Regions from separate parts of the Homo sapiens genome. Here all the other regions are linked to region 2. Evidence: promoter capture Hi-C in 16 types of primary human blood cells and fetal thymus (Javierre and others, 2016). All regions are on one chromosome and are shown on one strand. The core of a region is centred on a gene start or on the middle of the fragment in contact, and the rest is flanking DNA. Distances in the headings are between cores, read along the strand shown. Region 1 has its middle 6.5 kb from the start of MIR4294. Region 2 holds the start of ERCC6 (ERCC excision repair 6, chromatin remodeling factor). Region 3 overlaps WDFY4 (WDFY family member 4). Region 4 overlaps WDFY4 (WDFY family member 4). Region 5 overlaps WDFY4 (WDFY family member 4). Region 6 has its middle 38 kb from the start of WDFY4. Region 7 has its middle 22 kb from the start of WDFY4.

The links. Contacts are between HindIII fragments. The CHiCAGO score rates a contact against its expected background, and 5 or more counts as called.
Region 1: a fragment that was not itself captured here is called in contact with the fragment with the promoter of ERCC6 in region 2 in 1 of 17 cell types (M0 macrophages); the score reaches 8.9 in M0 macrophages.
Region 3: a fragment that was not itself captured here is called in contact with the fragment with the promoter of ERCC6 in region 2 in 5 of 17 cell types (naive B cells, M0 macrophages, M2 macrophages and 2 more); the score reaches 9.5 in naive B cells.
Region 4: a contact is called between a fragment that was not itself captured here and the fragment with the promoter of ERCC6 in region 2, in 1 of 17 cell types (M0 macrophages). The highest score is 5.6, in M0 macrophages.
Region 5: a contact is called between a fragment that was not itself captured here and the fragment with the promoter of ERCC6 in region 2, in 1 of 17 cell types (M0 macrophages). The highest score is 5.6, in M0 macrophages.
Region 6: a fragment that was not itself captured here is called in contact with the fragment with the promoter of ERCC6 in region 2 in 1 of 17 cell types (neutrophils); the score reaches 6.6 in neutrophils.
Region 7: a fragment that was not itself captured here is called in contact with the fragment with the promoter of ERCC6 in region 2 in 4 of 17 cell types (neutrophils, endothelial precursors, monocytes and 1 more); the score reaches 5.4 in neutrophils.

The regions. Positions count from the first base shown.
Region 1 is chr10:48,990,741-48,993,440 of GRCh38, forward strand. No RefSeq gene overlaps it. Among named protein-coding and RNA genes, the nearest start is that of MIR4294, 6.5 kb to the left of the region's middle. The HindIII fragment of the contact is 3,569 bases long and covers 1-2,700 here.
Region 2 is chr10:49,537,831-49,540,530 of GRCh38, forward strand. ERCC6 (ERCC excision repair 6, chromatin remodeling factor) reads right to left here and starts at 1,291. Exons shown (of 21, transcript NM_000124.4): 1 at 1,132-1,291. RefSeq lists a silencer at 934-1,223 and enhancers at 1,644-1,703, 1,734-1,973. The HindIII fragment of the contact is 12,532 bases long and covers 1-2,700 here.
Region 3 is chr10:48,974,436-48,977,135 of GRCh38, forward strand. It overlaps WDFY4 (WDFY family member 4), which reads left to right. Exons shown (of 62, transcript NM_001394531.1): 58 at 427-606; 59 at 2,362-2,544. It overlaps LOC105378298 (a long non-coding RNA gene), which reads right to left. Exons shown (of 4, transcript XR_007062370.1): 4 at 2,544-2,665. Among named protein-coding and RNA genes, the nearest start is that of MIR4294, 9.8 kb to the right of the region's middle. The HindIII fragment of the contact is 939 bases long and covers 974-1,912 here.
Region 4 is chr10:48,952,197-48,954,896 of GRCh38, forward strand. The region is part of intron 51 of WDFY4 (WDFY family member 4); the gene reads left to right. Among named protein-coding and RNA genes, the nearest start is that of LRRC18, 14 kb to the left of the region's middle. RefSeq lists an enhancer at 1-437. The HindIII fragment of the contact is 6,093 bases long and covers 1-2,700 here.
Region 5 is chr10:48,885,981-48,888,680 of GRCh38, forward strand. The region is part of intron 43 of WDFY4 (WDFY family member 4); the gene reads left to right. Among named protein-coding and RNA genes, the nearest start is that of LRRC18, 53 kb to the right of the region's middle. The HindIII fragment of the contact is 2,691 bases long and covers 82-2,700 here.
Region 6 is chr10:48,645,316-48,648,015 of GRCh38, forward strand. It overlaps a transcript of ARHGAP22 not described here. Among named protein-coding and RNA genes, the nearest start is that of WDFY4, 38 kb to the right of the region's middle. The HindIII fragment of the contact is 3,792 bases long and covers 1-2,700 here.
Region 7 is chr10:48,661,369-48,664,068 of GRCh38, forward strand. No RefSeq gene overlaps it. Among named protein-coding and RNA genes, the nearest start is that of WDFY4, 22 kb to the right of the region's middle. The HindIII fragment of the contact is 2,889 bases long and covers 1-2,700 here.

The sequences.
Region 1 (2,700 bases), core at 107-2,606, 550 kb before region 2:
CAGAACTAATAGGATATATATATATATATATATATATATATATATATATATATATATATACACACACACACACACACACACACACACACACACACACACACATACATATATATGCATACATATATACATACATGTATATATATACACACCTACCTATATGTATACATATACATACATATATGCATCTATACACACACATACATACATATATGTGTGTGTGTATATATATATAAAGGGGAGTTTATTAAGTATTAACTTACATGATCACAAAGTCCCACAATAGGCTGTCTAAAAGCTGAGGTGCAAGGTGAGCCAGTCTGAGTCCCAAAACTGAAGAATTTGGGGTCTAATGTTTGAAGGCAGGAAGCATCCAGCATGGGAGACAGATGTAGGCTGAAGGCTAGGCCAGTCTCACCTTTCACGTTTTTCTGCCTGCTTTATATTTTCTGGCAGCTGATTAGATTGTGCCCACCAGATTAAGGGTGGGTCTGCCTTCCCCACCCCACTGACTCAAATATTAATCTCCTTTGGCAACACCCTCACAGACACACCCAGAATCAATACTTTTTTCAATCCAATTAAGTTGACACTCATTATTAACCATCACAAGGCCACCCCTTGTCAACTTGAACCCACACACATCTCCTGATATCATACATAATCTTCAAATAAAGAAAACAATAAGGTCATAATTACACCTAACTTAATAAAACTATCCTTTGTACAACCGGAAACACACCAATCCCCAACCCAAATACTATTACCTGAAGTTAGCAACACTTAAATGCTGACATGAAGTCAATAAATCTTATGTCACATGTTAAAGAAAAAGGAAATAAAATGAAGATATTTTCTTAGTACAAGTGTATACATGCACAAACCTGTTTTTAACGAAAGAAGGAGGAAACATTCATGACAGGTACAGTCCTCGTTTCTGCAGCTGGTCATGTAGTTGTAGCTGGTATCTATGACTACCTTCTTCAACTACCCATTCTGGATTCCCTCTGCCTTCAGCAAGCACCTCAACAGGTCGTGGTTTTTTTCCTGGTAGAGTGACCCAAACCTTCACTCCTGAGGGGTCTGGGTCATTTGTAGTCCTGCCTGAATTGGGCTGTTGTAGTTTCCCATTGATCTTAATCACAGCGCATGGTAATACTAGGAGACACCCAAGTGGATCTCCTGTATTCTTCCTTACCTCTGTTATGCATACTCTTCCTTACCTCTGTTATGGTGTAGCAGACTGATTTCATCTTGATAGTCCGGGTCAATCACCCCAGTCAACATTGTAACTCCCTTCTTAGCCTGTTGAAGGAGCCCAAAGTGTCCAGGTACAATCTTAACTTTCAGTTTAATGGAATTGTTGTTGTGTTTCCTGTTGGCAGTGTTCCTCTCTCAGGAACTAAGACCGCTAGGCCACCAGAATGTAATGTCATGGGAACAGGAAGGAAAAATTTTGTTAGTGGATCACTAGGGGTGATGGTGAGCGGTGCCACTTCCATTTCCACCCCCTGATTCTTGGGCCTATGAATCCTGGCTATAAGAGAAATAGTGCCATATATTGGACACTGATTCAGAGCATACATGGCCTTCTAGAGAACCTTGTCCCAGCCCTGCAAAGTATTGTCACCTAGCTGGCATTGTAATTGTGACTTCAAAAGTCCATTTTTACCGTTCTATCAATCCAGCTGCTTCAGGATGATGGAGAACGTGGTAAGACCAGTGAATTCCACGAGCATGAGCCCACTGCTGCACTTCTTTAGCCACAAAGTGAGTGCTTTGGTCAGAGGCAATGCTGTGTGGAATACCTTGATGGTGAATAAGGCACTCTGTGAGTCCGTGGATGGTAGTCTTGGCAGAAGCATTGCATACAGGATAGGCAAACCCATATCCAGAGTAAGTGTCTATTTCAGTGAGGACAAATCTCTGCCCTTTCCATGATGGAAGAGGTCCAATATAATCAACCTGCCACCAGGTAGCTGACTAATCATCCTGAAGAATGGTGCCATATAGAGGGCTCAATGTTGGTCTCTGCTACTGGCAAATTGGGCACTCAGCAGTGGCCATAGCCAGGTCAGCCTTGGTGAGTGGAAGTCCATGTTGCTGAGTCCATGCATAACCTCCATCCTGGCCACCATGGCCACTTTGTTCATGGGCCCATTGGGCGATGACAGGGGTGGCTGGGGAAAGAGGCTGAGTGGCATCCACAGAAACAGAATGGGTCATCCTATCCACTTGATTATTAAAATCCTCCTCTGCTGAGTTCACCCGTTGGTGAGTGCTCACATGGGATACAAGCATCTTCATGGTTTTTGACTACTCCGAGAGGTCTGTCCACATACCTCTTTCCCAAATTTCTTTGTCACCATTTTTCCAATCATGCTTCTTTCAAGTCCCTGACCATCAAGCCAAGCCATTGGCTACAGCCGATGAATCAGTATATAATCGCACATCTGGCCATTTCTCCTTCCATGCAAAGTGCACAACCAGGTGCACTGCTCAAAGTTCTGCCCACTGGGAAGATTTCCTTTCACCGCTGTCCTTCAGGGATGTCCTAGAAAGGGGCTATAATGCTGCAGCTGTCCATTTTCGGGTGGTGCCTGCATATTGTGCAGAACCATCTGTGATGGTTCTCTTCCTCCTTCTGTCATCTGATCATAGGGAACTACCCATGAGGCCATCGGTGCAGGCTGGGGAAGAGAA
Region 2 (2,700 bases), core at 41-2,540:
TCCTGCCTTGGCCTCCCGATTAGCTGGGATTACAGGCATATGCCATCATGCCCGGCTAATTTTTCGTATTTAGTAAAGACAGGGTTTCACCACGTTGGTAAGGCTGGTCTCGAACTCCTGACCTCGGGTGATCCACCCACCTCGGCCTCCCAACAACGTGCGTAACTTTTAAGACTAGAAAGAGCTGATGCACTTGTGAAAATGCAAGAAGGCTGGAACACCGAATTTTTGACTTTATTTTTAACTTTGAGTTAAGAAGAGCAGAGAAGGGCTCCGTTCATGGCCTAAGTCTTGCAGAGTATCTTCTAAGGCTTAATCATCTGGGACACTAGTATCTTCACCGTCCTCCCCCATCACTGGGGCTCCCGCAGCCAGGGGCAAGCTGGGTCTCATTTGGAGGGTTGGTCGGACACAGGCACAGTTCTGAGAGGGGACAGGCAAGGGCCAAATCACACAAGGCCTGGGAAAACACGAGCATGGATTCCACTCCCAGTGCAATGGAATGACTCTGAAAACTGTTAAGTAGGCTGATGATGGCATGACCTACTTTATGCCAGAGACCACCTGGACAACTGTGCGGATAATGGATTGGAGGAGACAAAGCAACAAGAAGATGATGGGAAAAGTTGAGGAGAAAAGCGAGGGCTGCCTGTCACAGGATGACAGCAGTTAAGACGCTGCGTGGAAGTCACGTAACAGCAGCATTTACAGGCGGCCTGCCTCATCCGCCCACACTCTTATCAATTTGACTCTATCAACGCCCAAAACGTCGGACGTACATCTAGCCCGACTCTCTTTAAAATAACAGCTCCAGCATTTTAATCGAGATCAAAAAGGACCCAGCTGACCCTGCGCGCAGGGGGCCTTATACAAAGTCGGAGAAGTAGCTGGGTCGCTGGCCGGCCAGGGACTCAAGCCGCCTCAGGTGAGCGCTCCTTGGCGCTACTTCCGGTCTCAGGTGAGGCCGCCGGAAGCGGGCACTTGGCCCTAAGACCCGCTACAGTGCGTCCTCGCTGACAGGCTCAATCACCACGGCGAGGCCAAGGCGCGGGGCCGCGGCCCGCCCGAGAAGCCTGAGCTGGGCCCCGACACCCCCTGCCCGACATTCGGCCGGGACCCCCGAACACTCACCCAGGGCCGCGCGAGCGCCCACAAGGAAACAGAGACGCTACCGCCGCCAGCCGCCTTGGAACCCAGCTCGACGGGCCGTGGCGCCTGCGCCCTCAGCTCAACCATAGACACCGCCCCCAACAGCGACTCCGACTTCTGCTGGTGCGGGGAGGCCCGTGGCGCATGCGCCTGGCTCAGCGTTTGTTTTTAAGCACGGGCAAGACCACGTGGTTTGGAGGGACGGGCTCAGCAGCGCCTTTCTACTTGCGTGCGAGCAGGGCGAGAAAGCTGTCTCCGCTGCCGGTCAGCTGGGTGGCTTGCGAAGGACGCTTCGCCCCTAGCGAAAAATACCCTGCTGGCAAGGCAGTTATGAAAGTTAAGACATATTTCCACGTAGAGGGGGATGCGGGTGTGCCATGCGAATGTAAATCCTCACAATTAACCTTGAACCCTGCAGAGAAAGTCAGCTTGGGCAGGGAAGTTAGCCGCACTTTTTGGTCGCCAGGCTGTGACCTCTCTTGTTGTCTCCCACGACTGAACACGGGAAGGATGGAGAGCTGTCCTGCTTCTCTGTTCCCCCTCCGCCACGCGCGCACCTGGGCGGAGTGAGTGCCTACAGAGCCTGCTTACATGTGTACATTGCCTTAAGTCCAGCGTTTAGTATCCGTCCTCAGATCTCAGAGGTAGGCGGGGTTTCGAGGCAGGCGAGAATTTTACCGTGGTGCGTTTGAAGAAAGAAGATGTCCACACAGAGGTTCAGAACAATGGGAGGAAGTTGAGCTTCGCCTGGGGAAAGAAGCAGCCCACGATGCAGGATGGCTGTACCAGACAGAGCTTCTCAGCTCAGGATCGGTGCTAGGAGAAGGTGGACTTTCCAGGGCCGCGAGGCAGGACGTCCTCTGGGAGGGCAGTGACTGCGGGTCACTGCCTGGGAAGTGCTGTCCTCACTTGGAAGCCTGAAGTCGGACAATAGGGAAATGGGGTCGGAAAGGGGACTAGGAAATGCTCCATAACATCATCTTATTCCTCCTGTCAGCGGCCCCAACCCACAATGTAACTTGTTTTTGTTGGTGGTAGTGGGTTTTTTTGTTTGTTTTGTTTTTGTTTTTGTTTTTGAGACGGAGTTTTGCTCTTGTCGCCCAGGATGGAGTACAATGGCACGATGTGGGCTCACTGCAACCTCCTCCTCCCAGGTTCAAGCGATTCTCCTGCCTCAGCCTGCCGGGTAGCTGGGATTACAGGCGCCTGCCACCATGCCCAGCTAATTTTTGTGTTTTTAGTAGAGACGGGGTTTCGTCATGTTAGCCAAGCTGTCCGCGAACTCCTGACCTCAGGTGATCCACCCGCCTCGGCCTCCTAGAGTTCTGGGATTACAGGTGTGAGCCACCACGCCCGGCTTGTAACTTGCTTTTTTTTTTTTTTAAAGGAGAAAGAATTCTAGCGATTTCTTGGATAAAATATTAAGAATAGAAAGGCAGTTGATTGACATTAGTTTCAATGCTTGAAAGTAAAAGCAGATATATAGTGGATCCCAACTTTTGAGACTGAGGTTCCCTTTGCAGCTATTTTGGAGACCCTTCCTATATCAGA
Region 3 (2,700 bases), core at 193-2,692, 560 kb before region 2:
AAGGCTGCAGTGAACTGAGATCATGCCATTGCACTCCAGCCTAGGCAACAGAGCAAGACTCCGTCTCAAAAAAAAAAAAAAAAAAAAAAAAAAACAACTCATGACATGAACTGCTCCCGGGTTCAAGATAGATGTAGGGCAGCACAAAACATCCAGGTGTGGCTAGCCTCTGGTTGGGTTATAAGTAAAAAAATGGTTTCTCCCCAGCAGAGCCTCCACCCCTGGAGATGAATGAAATGGAGAGGCTAGTCATGGACACGCACATGCACACACCCCCAGCTGCACAGACAACAGACTTGGGAATCACTGACTCACTCAGAATCTCCATTTCCTCATCCAGCACCCAGCTTTATAGGGAGGGTGAAGAATTCCCAAAAGTAGCTGAATTGAGGGTCCCTCTCCTAACCTGTGAGTCTCTGTCCCCAGGCCTTGTATGGACACACACAGGCTGTCACGTGCCTGGCAGCGTCAGTCACCTTCAGCCTCCTGGTGAGCGGCTCCCAGGACTGCACCTGTATCCTGTGGGATCTGGACCACCTCACCCACGTGACCCGCCTGCCCGCCCATCGGGAAGGCATCTCAGCCATCACCATCAGTGACGTCTCAGTAAGTCTCCTGTTTCTCAGTGTCCGTGTCCTCACCTTCGCAGTAGCATGGGGTACAACACTCAGGAGAAAGCCCAGAGACACAGAGACTCTAGCCACCCCAGAATGCTGAGAGGGCCCCCAATTGTGTGGAACAGTCGCTGTAGATCTCACTTGTAGCACCCAGGTCTAGCTTCAATGTCCGCTTCTTTACTTTCCTCCCTCTGGTGTTGGGGACAGTGGGAAGTGTCTGCTTTGCTGCGGGCACCAGGGGGCTGCAGCTGAAAAATTGGCTTTTAGGGAGGGTTTTGTTGGATGTGGCTGACTCATTTAGGTCTTTACCTTCAAATCAGTGTTGACTTGGCAGGTTTGGTCTTCATGGCAGTGCAAGCTTCTCTGCCTCTCCTTCCATACTGGCTAACAAAGACCAGGGAGATCGACTTACCGGTGTGAAATTTCTTCCAGACTGAAGCCCTGTCATGGGATATGGGGTTCCCTGAGGATGCAGAGGTTTCTGCATCTGCTCACAGAAAACCTAAGGGGCCCAGGGCATAAATAAAATGGGCAGAGGGCTCAAAAGAGGAGGGATGATATAGGAGCTTCCTGGTTCCAATTTTTGCTGAAAGTGGTGCTCCAGGTAGGCTTGAATTCAAAACTGGATTCAATGTTAGATGAGTAGATGGAGTGTGAATGGATGGGTGGATGGATGGGTAGATGAGTGGATGCATGGGTGGATGAATGGATAGATGGATGGACGGGTGGATAGATGAGTGGATGGGTAGATAGATAAATGAATGGATGGATGGATGGATAAATGAGCAGATAAATGGATGAATAGGTGGATGGAAAGATGGATGAAATGGATAATGGATTGGTAGATGGTGGGTGAATGGATGGATGGGTTGATGTATAGAAGGCATTGAAGCCTTCACCTGGGAGAATATAAAACCCATCAGGAATTGTGTCCCTAGACCCCAGAGAAGCCTGGCACCAGGACAAGTTGTCCTGCAGCCAACTGATTTCAGTCTGTGCTTGCTGGTTGTGGGGCAGAGAGGTATCAGACATGGCCTCTGGCCTCAGACAGACCATCCCTAACAATTCAGGAACTTCTAATGGATCCCAGCCCAGTGAGATGTGGAGGGGCACTGAGCACCCTACATCCCTTCTGTGATTAGGGCAAGGCTCAAAGGGATGGCCCCAGGACCTTGGTGACAGTGGCCACTATAGAATAAACAGGACTTGAGGAGGAAAGACTCAAATGTGAGCATATCAGGAGATACAATGGGGAAATTTCTCCTTAGAAATTCCCTCTTCAGGGACATTGCACAAGCTTATGAGCCACATGCAGTCATTGGAACTTCTGTACCCTGCCATCCACCAGGTGGCATCCAAAACTTCTTTATGGGGCAGGGCTGACCTACCAGGTGTAAGCTGTGTGTCCAAAGCCAGGGCTACCCTTCAGGCTGGATCTTCTGTGGCAGTCAGGGTGTGGTTGGGGAGTGGGATCTGGGAGGAGCCTGAGGGTGAGCCAGGTGCCTTCTGCCAGGAAAGAAGTATCTAAGCACATGACTGCAGTATGAAAAGAACCAAGAATTTACAACTGTGTGAAAACACAGCAGACCTGTAAGTCAGCTGGAAAGAAGTTTTGGGGTACCTTGGGGGTCTTCAGAGCATGACAGATTGAGAGTACTTGGGTGTACCAACTGGGTAGCTGAGCAAGTGGCTGATGGGCAGGCAGTGACTCCAGCTTAGAGTGATGCCAGCTCTCACTGCACAGGGCACCATTGTCTCCTGTGCGGGAGCACACTTGTCCCTGTGGAATGTCAATGGACAGCCCCTGGCCAGCATCACCACAGCCTGGGGCCCAGAAGGAGCCATAACCTGCTGCTGCCTGATGGAGGGCCCAGCATGGGACACAAGCCAGATCATCATCACCGGGAGTCAAGACGGCATGGTCCGGGTAGGTGTGTCTTGGGCAGAATGAGGACATGACACAAGAAACGTGTTCATCTCCATTCTTCTCACTTCCTCCAGGGGGCCAAACCTGCAGGTTGCATTTGAGACCATTCCAGAACGGGTACCTACAGCAAAGGAAGGGAAAAGACAAGGCTCTTTG
Region 4 (2,700 bases), core at 113-2,612, 590 kb before region 2:
CACCCAGGTGGACCATGCCTGCCTCTTCACTTGCTGCCTGCAGCTCAGCCCCTGCCTCTGAGGCAAGCAACCCACCTCCTGGTACCCTAAGGCTCACATAGGGCCAGCCTACCCAATGCAGCCAGGGCTGTGGGGCTAGACATAGAAACTGCCAGCCTCCCTCTGATTACAGTGAAAGGGCATGGGATCTGTAAGGGCCCAAAGTGTGACTTGAGGAGAATCATTCAGGATCTCCAACACCGTCTGGTTTTTATCATACAGACTTGAGGAGTATTGGAAAAGCACGTGCAATAGAGACAGACAGTCCCGGGATAATCTCCTGGCTCTAGAACTTTCTAATTGGCATTATTGAACAACGGAGCCTCAGTTTCTTCATCCTTTAAAATAACCCCTAGCTGGGAGGGTGGTGAGGACTAAAGGAGATACGACATGAGCCATTTTGGCTGACCTTAGTGTCCCCTACGTGCCCACCCTCCTCCTCCTAATGCAGGCAGCGTGGTTTCAGCAAGTCTTGACGGGTTCACTCATTTAGAAAAGAGCCACCACCTACAGGAAGGAAAGCTAATGGCCACTCTGGGGTCATCCCGTCCTCTGTGAGAGCAAGACCAAGGAGGCAGCTGGACCAGTGCGTGGGCTTCCCAACGCCATGAGGGTCCTATGCCTTTAGCTTATTCAGTAGCGTGTCAGGGCCTGGCTTTTTCCTGCAGAGGCTCAGAGAATGCTGGGTCCAGCTTTCCTTTCCCCTCACACATTTGCCCCGTTACTTCTGAGGTGCTGTTGCTACCAAAAGCTGCCCTGACAGTTCAGGCTCTCCTTCCTGTTGTCATCCCACAGTCCTTCAGATTCCCCACCCTCCTACCTCTGTCCTCGCCACTGGAAGATCCCGCCTCTCCTCACTTCCCCCTGTACCCCACCTCCTACCTTCCATAACTTCTATCCCCTTCTCCTTTGGAGCTCCTGGTTGCCTTCCCCATGCACACTGAGATCAGGGCCCAAGCCCAGGATTGCTCCCTAGTTCTAATCCTAGTCTGTGAAGGGAAAAGGACACAGGGGCTGGGTTCATTTGGCACCTCTTTCTATGTGCCTGCTTCATCGCATGAGATATGTCTCTCTCTCTCTCTCTCTCTCTCTCTCTCTCACACACACACACACACACACACACACAATTGCTTTCACACCAACAGCTATCATCCAGGGTTCATAGACAAGGGCATGGGCGGTTAAAGAGATTAAGAAACTCACTTGAGTTCATCCTGCAAGTTAAGTGGGCACTGAACTTCCTGCCCAAGCCAGTCTGCTTCTGAAGCCAGTGTGCTTTCCACCGTTGCATACTGCCTCTTTGATTGGCTAAAGACAGCAGGTTAGATCAACTGATATATCAACAGGGTCCTGTAAGTGAGTTGTTTGCATGGGTACTTTTAAATTACTGGAAAGAATATCTGCAGTGAGAATGGGTTGTCAGCCTGCTGATAAAACCACTTCCATATCCAGATGTGGCAGCAGGTTGATTTGGATCAGTGTTATCAGGAAGGAAGAATAGACTTTCTAGCATATATTATAGAAATATCTGTGCATCTTGGTTTCCTTCAGCATGTGCAGTTACTGAATTTCCTGTGAATGTGGGCCAAGAATTGAAGCCACATTGGAGAGGGGTTTATGAATGTCTAATAGTGATTGAAATGCTCATCCATAGGCAATGGTGCACATAGACTTTGTGTCCTCTCATGAAAGGAGTATTTCCTTTAATATAGAACATTTCTTTTCAGGTTTTCCAGCTTTAGCCATCATACCATAATTATAGACTGTCCCCTGATTTTAACTTGGATCAATGTGCAGGAATAGTCCTTGCTAGCCACTTCTTTTCCTATTATTTTGCCCTCAATTTTGCTTCATCTCTTAGCAATATTTAGCACCTCCTAAAGGATTTTAATTGAGAAGAGGTACCTAGGATTATATTGTTTCTGAACTCTTCAATATTCAAAATGTTCCCACATCTTTACATGTGAGTGATGTCTTAACTGAGCACAAAATCCAACAACTGTAACCTTTTGCCTCAGAATCCTCTAGGCTTGGCTGGCTCCATTGTCTTCTGGCCTAAATGTCACATGGGAAAACCTTCTGCCAATAAGAAATTGTTCCTTTGTTGGCAATAATAACCTTGCTATTATTTTTTACAGTTTGTTTGGATACAGGTAGGATTTGTTGCAGAACAGATTCCAGAGCAGCTCTTGGTTCAGGAATTCTCTTTGATCACTTTGTTCCCTTCCAAGTTCTAGACTTAATTGTGCTGGTTTATTTCATTTGGGTCTGGACTTTCCTTAGATAGACACTCTGTAAACCTTGACTGGGTCTCTCTGCCTCTTACCTTCTTGCCCCATTTTTCCCTCTTCTCTTTCTTTCCTCCTTCCTTCCTTTCGGAGAATTCAATCTTAGCTGGGACTGCTCGCTGGCAGCCACCAGAGTTTACATCAACCCACAGACTTACAATACAAGTAACAAAGCAACTCCACTTTTTCTTCTAGGGAATTTGGTGTTTTCTTTTGTATTGCAGAAGTGAGAAGACCCATTAATTTTGAAACAAATGTATGCAAATACATTTATTAATATAGCAAATAGGAAAATCAGTTATTGCTTCCTTTATAAATAATACAGGCCTAAGTTTTAAAGATATTACTTTAGCTAAAATGCATTAGACAGCTG
Region 5 (2,700 bases), core at 177-2,676, 650 kb before region 2:
ACTATTAGAATGTATTCAGAACAAGGTTGAGGCAAGCAGAGATGTAGGAAGAGGGCAGATGATAAATGGGAGCAGGGCTAAAGCTTTCTTTGCAGCAGACTCACTCACCGTACACACAAACGTAAGGGAATGCATATATTGGCAGCTCTGTTGCTGGGTACCTTCAGTCACCTCTCTGGACCTCAGTTTTCCTACCTATAAAATCAGGGTATTTCACCAAGTTGCAGACTGCTAATGCTAGAGAAAACTTTAGAGAGTATCCGGTTGACCTTGCCCATTATAGATGTACCACTGAGGCCTGACTTTAGAAGAATGTGCTGCTGTGTGCTACCACTGAATGTCCCAGTAGATTGTTGTCTCCCTGCTATGGTTTGAATGTCCCCCAAAATTCTTGTGTTGGAAACTTAATTGCCATTGTAACAGTATTAAGAGATGGGGTCTTTAAGAAGTGATTAGGCCATGAGAGCATGACCCTCATGAATAGATTAATGCCATTATTGCAGGAATGGGTTCATTATTATGGGAGTGGGATCCTGATAAAAAGGATAAGTTCAGCCCCATTTCTGTCTCTGTCTTGCATGCTCACTTCCAGCTTCCGCCCTTCCATCATGGGGTGACCCTCACTAGATGCCAGTGCCATGCTCTGGGACTTCCTGTCCACCAGAACCAATAGCCAAATAAACATTTATCTCTATAAATTACCCAGTCTGGGGTATTCTGTTATAGCAGCAGATAATGGACTAAGACACCTTCTAACTTTCGCTCCAGCATTTTGTTGATTTCTGGACAACCTGTTTGTCATCATACACAGAGCTAGCTGTGGCTACTTTCTTAGTTATTTTACCCATCAAGAGTGCTAATATATCATTCAGTTGATCTTAAAAAAGCTCTACTTATGAGGCAAAAGTTCTACTCTTTAAAGTGATCAATAGAATCATGGCATAAGGGATTTCTTAATCATGAGTAAACTTAGGGATGGAGCCCTCCTAGGGCTAATTTAAATGGAAGAGCAGGTAATAGTTCACTTGGGTTCATTTTCTAGTTTTTAAAATGCCATTTCTTTTCTAGCAGAATCAATGTTTAAGCTATTAACCCAGCTCTCACCAGACATTTTTCTTGTGGTTTGGCTTATTCTGGTTGATACTTAAGTCTTCCCAAAGGGAAGCACCAGATCATAGGCATGTGCTCTGAGACCCTGGTGCAGGCACCATGGAGGCTGTGGTGGGGGCCTGGTGTCACAGGGAGGAGAGAGGGTTTGGAGGCACATAGGCCAGGGCTGGCATTGCAGAGCCACATCATCTCATCATGTGAACCTGAGGTTGGGGTCTCTGAGTCTCATCTGGGAAAAGGTACAATAAGAGAAAAAGTTTAAGCAGCCTGACATAATCTTCCTGATAGTCCTGGTGGGAGTGTAAATTAGTGTCACCTTGTGGGAGGGTAATCTGGCAATGGCTACTTGAATTAAAAATGCCCATACCCTTGACCTGCAATTCTGCTTATAGAAATTTATGCTTCAGGCCAGGCGCGGTGGCTCACGCCCGTAATCCCAGCACTTTGGGAGGCCAAGACGGGCGGATCACGAGGTCAGGAGATCAAGACCATCCTGGCTAACACGGTGAAACCCCATCTTTACTAAAAAATACAAAAAATTAGCCGGGCGTGGTGGTGGGTGCCTGTAGTCCCAGCTGCTCAGGAGACTGAGGCAGGAGAATGGCATGAACCCAGGAGGCGGAGCTTGCAGTGAGTGGAGATCTCGCCACTGCACTCCAGCCTGGGCAACAGAGCGAGACTCCATCTCAAAAAAAAAAAAAAAATTTATGCTTCAGATTTACTTGTGTATTCAAAATGACTTATCTGCAAGGATGGTCATTGTAGCATTGCCTGTTATGTCAAAACATTTGAAAGCCACCTGAATCAAAAAAGGACTGACTGGTCAAATAAACTGTAGCATATCCATTCAAGGGAATAGTCTGCAACTATTAATAAGAATTAGACAGCTCTATGATAAATGATTTGGAAAATTATCTAAGATGAATTGTTAAGAGAAAAGTCTAGATGCAGAGCAGTAAGCATATAAATGTTCTTTGTGTAAAAAAGAATATGTATAAACATGCTAATGTATTCATACAATCTCTTTGGAAGAATATCCAATAAAGTGGTAATGGTGGTTGCCCCTGGGGAAGACTACTAGAGAACCTGGGAATGCCACACAGTTACTCAAGTCCCAAAGTAGACATTTATCATTTATCCTCAATTCATCCTCCGTCTCCTCCCCTCCCCTCCCCTCCTTTCCTCTCCCCTCCCCCTCCCTCCCTCTTTCCTTCCTTCCTTCCTTTCTTCCTTCTTTCCCTTTCCTTTTCTTTTCTTTTTCTTCTTTTTGCTTTCCAGTTAGTCCAGTAGCAGCTCCTGTCAATTCTCCATCTTCTTGTTTAGATACACCCACTTCCTTCCCTCTGCATTCTGCCATCCATCCCAGACCACTGAAATAGCAACACAACGGGGCACCCTCCTTTCAGTCTTGACCCTTTCTAATGCCATCTCCACCCAGCAGTCAGTGTCATCTTTTGGAAACAAACTCTCCCATGGCTTTCTGTTGCAACCACAATAAAACCCAAGGGCCATGCTAAGGTACCTAAGACCACCTATGATGTTGGTACTCCTAATTTCCAACTTCATCTTAGCCGTACTGACCACTTTCTG
Region 6 (2,700 bases), core at 171-2,670, 890 kb before region 2:
AAAGAAAACTACCAGGCTAATATCCCTCATTAACATACATAAAAATGCTCAACAAAATATTAGCAAAGTAAATTCAGCAAGATATAAAAAGGATTATACACCATGAATCAATGGGATTTATCCCAGGAATGTAACATTAGTTTGACACCTGAAAAAATCAATTAATGTTGTACATCTATTACACATCTATATATTTTATTAATAGAAATAGAATAAAGGACAAAACCCATATAATCATCTAATGGATGCAGAAAAGCATCTGACAAAATCCAATAGCCATTCATGATTTTAAAAAACAACAACTCTCAACAAACTAGGAGTAGAAGGGAAATTAATGTGTTAAAGGGTATCTATGACAAACCCAGAGACCAATATCATATGTAACCATGAAAATACTGAATGCTTTCCCCTTAAAATAAGGACAAAGGCAGAGGTAGCCACTTTCTCCACTTCTAGTCAACAATATACTGTATTATTCTATCCAGTACAATAGACAGTGAGAGACAAAGGGAAAAAAGAGGGTCGGGAGAGGGAAGGAGGGGAAGAGAGGCAGAGAAAAATTTAAAGCCAGATTGGAAAGGAAGAAGAAAATCTGTCTTTATTTGCAGATGATATGATACTGTGTTTGGAAAATTATCACAAGAACTAATTTAAAAATCTGCTAGAACTAATAAGTTTTTCAAAGTTGCAGAATACAAGATGGACATAGCAAAAATCAATTGTATACCTACACATCAGCAACAAAAACTCCATAAATGAAATTAAGAAAACAACACCATTCACAATAATATCAAAAAGAATAAACTATTTAGAAATAAATTTAACAATGATGTGAAGACATGCAGAAAACACTTCTGAGAGAAGATTAAGAAGATATAAATAATTAGAAGTACATTTCTTTCTCATGAAGTTAAAGAATCAATATTGTCAGGATGGCAATTATCTTCCAATGAATCTACAAATTCAATGTGATTCCTATCAAAATCTCAGAAACATTTTATGGGGTGGAGAAATTGGCATGCTAATTTGAAATTTTATATAAAAACACAAAGGGCCTAGAATAGGCAAAATAATTTTGTAAAAGAATAAAGTTACACACTACCTATTTTTACATTTTCTCCAAAGTTATAGTAATCAAGATAGTATGGTATAGGCACAAGGATAGGTCTACAGGTCAATAGAATATAATTGAGAATCCAGAAGTAAACCCCAATATTTGTGGCTAGCTGATAGTTCACAAAGGAGCTTGGGCAATTCAGTGGGGAAAGGAAAATTTTTTAACAAATGGTGTTGGGACAATTGGCTATCCATAAGCGAAACAGCAGCAGCAACAACAACAACAACAACAAAAACCCTTCAAACAAACAAGCAACAAAACAACCCTTTGACTGTACCTCATACTATATACAAAAATTAACTCAAAATTGGTCTTAGCTCTAAATGTAGATGCTAAAACCATACAACTTCTAGAAACAAACACAGGAGAAAGTGTTTGTGATGTTGGGTTAGGTGGACTCTTAGATACCATATCAAAAGCATGATTCATAAAAGAAAAGATAGAAAAACTGAACTTCGACAAAATTAAGATTTTTTGCACTTTAAAATTTAAGTACACCATTAAGAAAATTAAAAGTCAAGCCACAGACTAGGAGAAAATTTAGGCAAATTATATATCTGATAATAGATTTGTATCTAGAACATGTAAACATTCTTACCACTCTAATAAGACAGACAACCTGATTTAAAAATGGGCAAAAAATTTAAATAGGCATGTTACCAAAGAAGACATACAAACAGGCTGGGCTTGGTGGTTTACACTTGTAATCCCAACACTTTCGCAGGCTGAGAGGGGTGGATCACCTAAAGTCAGGAGTTTGAGACCAGCCTGGCCAACATGGTGAAACCCTGTCTCTACTAAAAAGACAATAACTAGCTGTGCGTGGTGGTGGGTGCCTGTAATCCCAGCTACTCAGGAGGCTGAGGCAGGAGAATCGCTTGAACCGGGAGGCAGAGGTTGCAATGAGCCGAGATCACGCCATTGCACTCCAGTCTGGGCGACAAGAGCAAAACTCAGTATCAAAAAATATAAAAATGGAAATAAAAAGGCATATGAATAGTTAATAAGCACAGGAAAGTACATTCAACATCATTAATGGTTAAGCAAATGCAAATCAAATCCCCAATAAAATACCACTTTACACCCGCTAGGATAGCTATAATAAAACAATAGCAAGTGTTGGTGAGGATGTGGAAACATTGGGACCCTTATGTATGAGGTGGGATTGTATGACGGTGGGAATGTAAAATGGTACAGAGATTTCAGAAAACATTTTGACAGTTTCTTAAAAATTAAAAAATAAACCTACCATACGACCCAGCAAGAGAAATGAAAGCCGTGTGTTCACAGAAGCATATGCATGTGAATGCTCATAACAGCATCATTCGTAATAATCCCAATCCAAAAACAACCCAAAAGTCCATCAACGGGTGAGCGGAGAAACACAATGTGCATCCCTACAAGGGAGTATTACTCAGCTACAAAGGAGCACACTGATCACTGATTCACACGAGAACATGAATGACCCTCAAAACGTTATGCTACATGAAAGAAGCCCAATGCAAAACACTACACAGTTTATGCTTCCGTTTATAGAAAATGTCCAGAAAAGGCACATTTATGAAGACAAAAAGCAGATCAAT
Region 7 (2,700 bases), core at 179-2,678, 880 kb before region 2:
CCATGCCAATAAATGTTGCCACCCACGTTAACTTTAAGCAAAAGATGTAGGGGTCATTCTTGAGTTTATCTGATGACTTATTCTGTAAGCCTTGTAGTCACTTCTATTTCCAAGATACAACCCAAGTCCATCCTTTTTTCTCTCTTTCCACTATTACCACCCTAGATGTGCCACTGCCATTCTTGCTTGGCCTCATTCAAGAGCCTCTGCACTGGCTTCTATGCATGCTCTATTGTCCCCAGGCCATTCTCCATGCAGCAGTAAAATGTAAATTGGGGCATGCCATTTCCCTGCATAAACACCTCAATGGCTTCTCATCATGTTGAGCCTCAAGTCCAAACTTCCTGCTGGATCTTAGAAGGCCCTCCCTGAGAGGTCCTTGCCTGTTTCTCTAGTTTATCTTGGTCCTGTTCATGCTCAATCCCCCTACCCTGCCACTGCCACCTTGTTGGCATTTATGCTTTCAGCATACTGGCCACTCAACTCCTTTCTTGCCCCAGGGCTTTTGTACCTGCTTCCCACTTCTTGAAATGCTCCCCACTTCTTGAAATGCTCCCCCACACTTCTTCAGTAAACACTTCTTCTTTTTTTTTTTTTTCTTTTTCTAGACGGAGTCTCACTCTGTTCCCCAGGCTGGAGTGCAGGGGCGTGATTTCCGCTCACTGCAAGCTCTGCCTCCTGGGTTCACGCCATTCTCCTGCCTCAGCCTCCCAAGTAGCTGGGACTACAGGCGCCCACCACCACGCCCGGCTAATTTTTTGTATTTTTAGTAGAGACGGAGTTTCACTGTGTTATCCAGGATGGTCTCGATCTCCTGACCTCGAGATCCGCCCGCCTTGGCCTCCCAAAATGCTGGGATTACAGGTGTGAGCCACCGCGCCCGGTCCAGTAAACACTTCTTAGTTTGTTGAATGAACAAATACATACTAACCTGTTAGCACAGGGATTTTTATCCTTATTTCATAGCTGAGGACTGCAAGGCCCAGAGGGGCTGACTGTAATTTTTCAAGACATTTTTGGTTAAAAAAAAAAAAAACCTAATGGTTTTAGCAAAACCCTTGAGATGACCTCTGAATGGACCATCATGGATCATGTGCACAGACCTGAACCCATCGTTGCAGCTGGGGCAGGGAACAGTCTCATATGGTGGGCCTTGGTCATGCATCCATCCCACTGCTGAGGGTGGAATCAGTTCCAACCAACACACATGGTGTGAGGATGAGTGAGGGGAGGCTTCTAAAGCAGCTTTATTTGTAATAGCCTCAAACTGGAAACAGTCAAGATGGTTAAACAGGTGAATGGTTAAACACCCTGTGCACAGCCATGCCATGGATTCTATCTAGCAATGAAAAGGAAAGGACTATGAATGCTTGCAGCCACTTGGGTGGATCTCAAGGACATTACGTTTAGCGAAAAAAGCCAGTCCCAAAAGGACATAGGCTGCATTATTTCATGTATATAACATTCTCTAAATGAGTTGGAGAGCAGATGAGAGGTGGCCAGGGGTTAGGGACAAATGGGGCAGAAGGCAGGTGTGACTACAAGGGACAGCATGAGGGATAGCTTACAGCCACAGGATAGTTCTGCACCCTGGTGGTTACATAAATCTGCATGTAATACAACTGGAGTGATAGACATTGCATCAATGCCAGTTCCCTGGTTTTGATATTGTACTAAGTTATGTAAGATAGAATCACTGAGAGACACTGAGTCAAGGGGATCTGGGACCTCTTTGATTATTTTTGCAACTTCCTGTGAATCTGCAAAAGAGTAGGTACTCACTAGTGGCAACAATATACATTACCAGTCTAACATGTGTACACATAGATAGGTCTTGTTAGGATGTTGAAACTGTGCCAATGCATGTTATTATTACTACAGTTTTAAAGATTTCTCTAAAAAATCAAAAAGCAAAATGTATATGATAATTAAAGAATACAAAAAATTAAAAAACATTATTTGATAAAATTAAATTCTTATTGTGATTTTAAAAATAAAAAATAAATCTAAAAATTAAACTGTTAGCATTTCTGGTGTTTGTTTTGCATCTAGTGGGTGCTATGAAGAATCTATGTCATACTTCACGCAAGTGACATTATACATCCAGAACAACACATATGCATCTAAGAGGGAGTGAGCTGTTTAATAGCATGAAATATTTCCAGGCTGCAATGAAGAACCATTGTGAATTTTGCAATGATATATAAGTACCTATGAAACTATGAATTTGAACTCAAAGAGCAGAAAAAAAAATACATGTCTGGCACTATTCAGAGATGAGATTTCTTATGGAGAACCTACTACATTTAGGTGATCTGAGAGGAAGCCTCTGGAAGTTTAGATTTTTTTCCTATTGCTTCCACGTTCAATTCCTCCTAGACATGGAAGCAATGTTCCTGCTGGCAATGGCACAACCCATAAACCTAAGCTGATCCTGCAAGCCAAATCCATAACATTTGGATCCAATCACATTTTCTTTTGAGGACATACATAGGGCAAGAGATGAGGTGCTGGACAATGCCAGTCCAGTGAGCAGGTGTGCAGGGTCAGGGCCATGGGTCATGCAGGGCAGCACTGGGCACACCTCTCGAGGAACAGAGGTGCCCATTCCATACATCCATGAATAGATGTGTGCTGTTTGGGTTCTCATGGGCCCTCAAAGTGTAGAGTCCAAGATAGGGCCCTCCTTGGTTTCCTGGA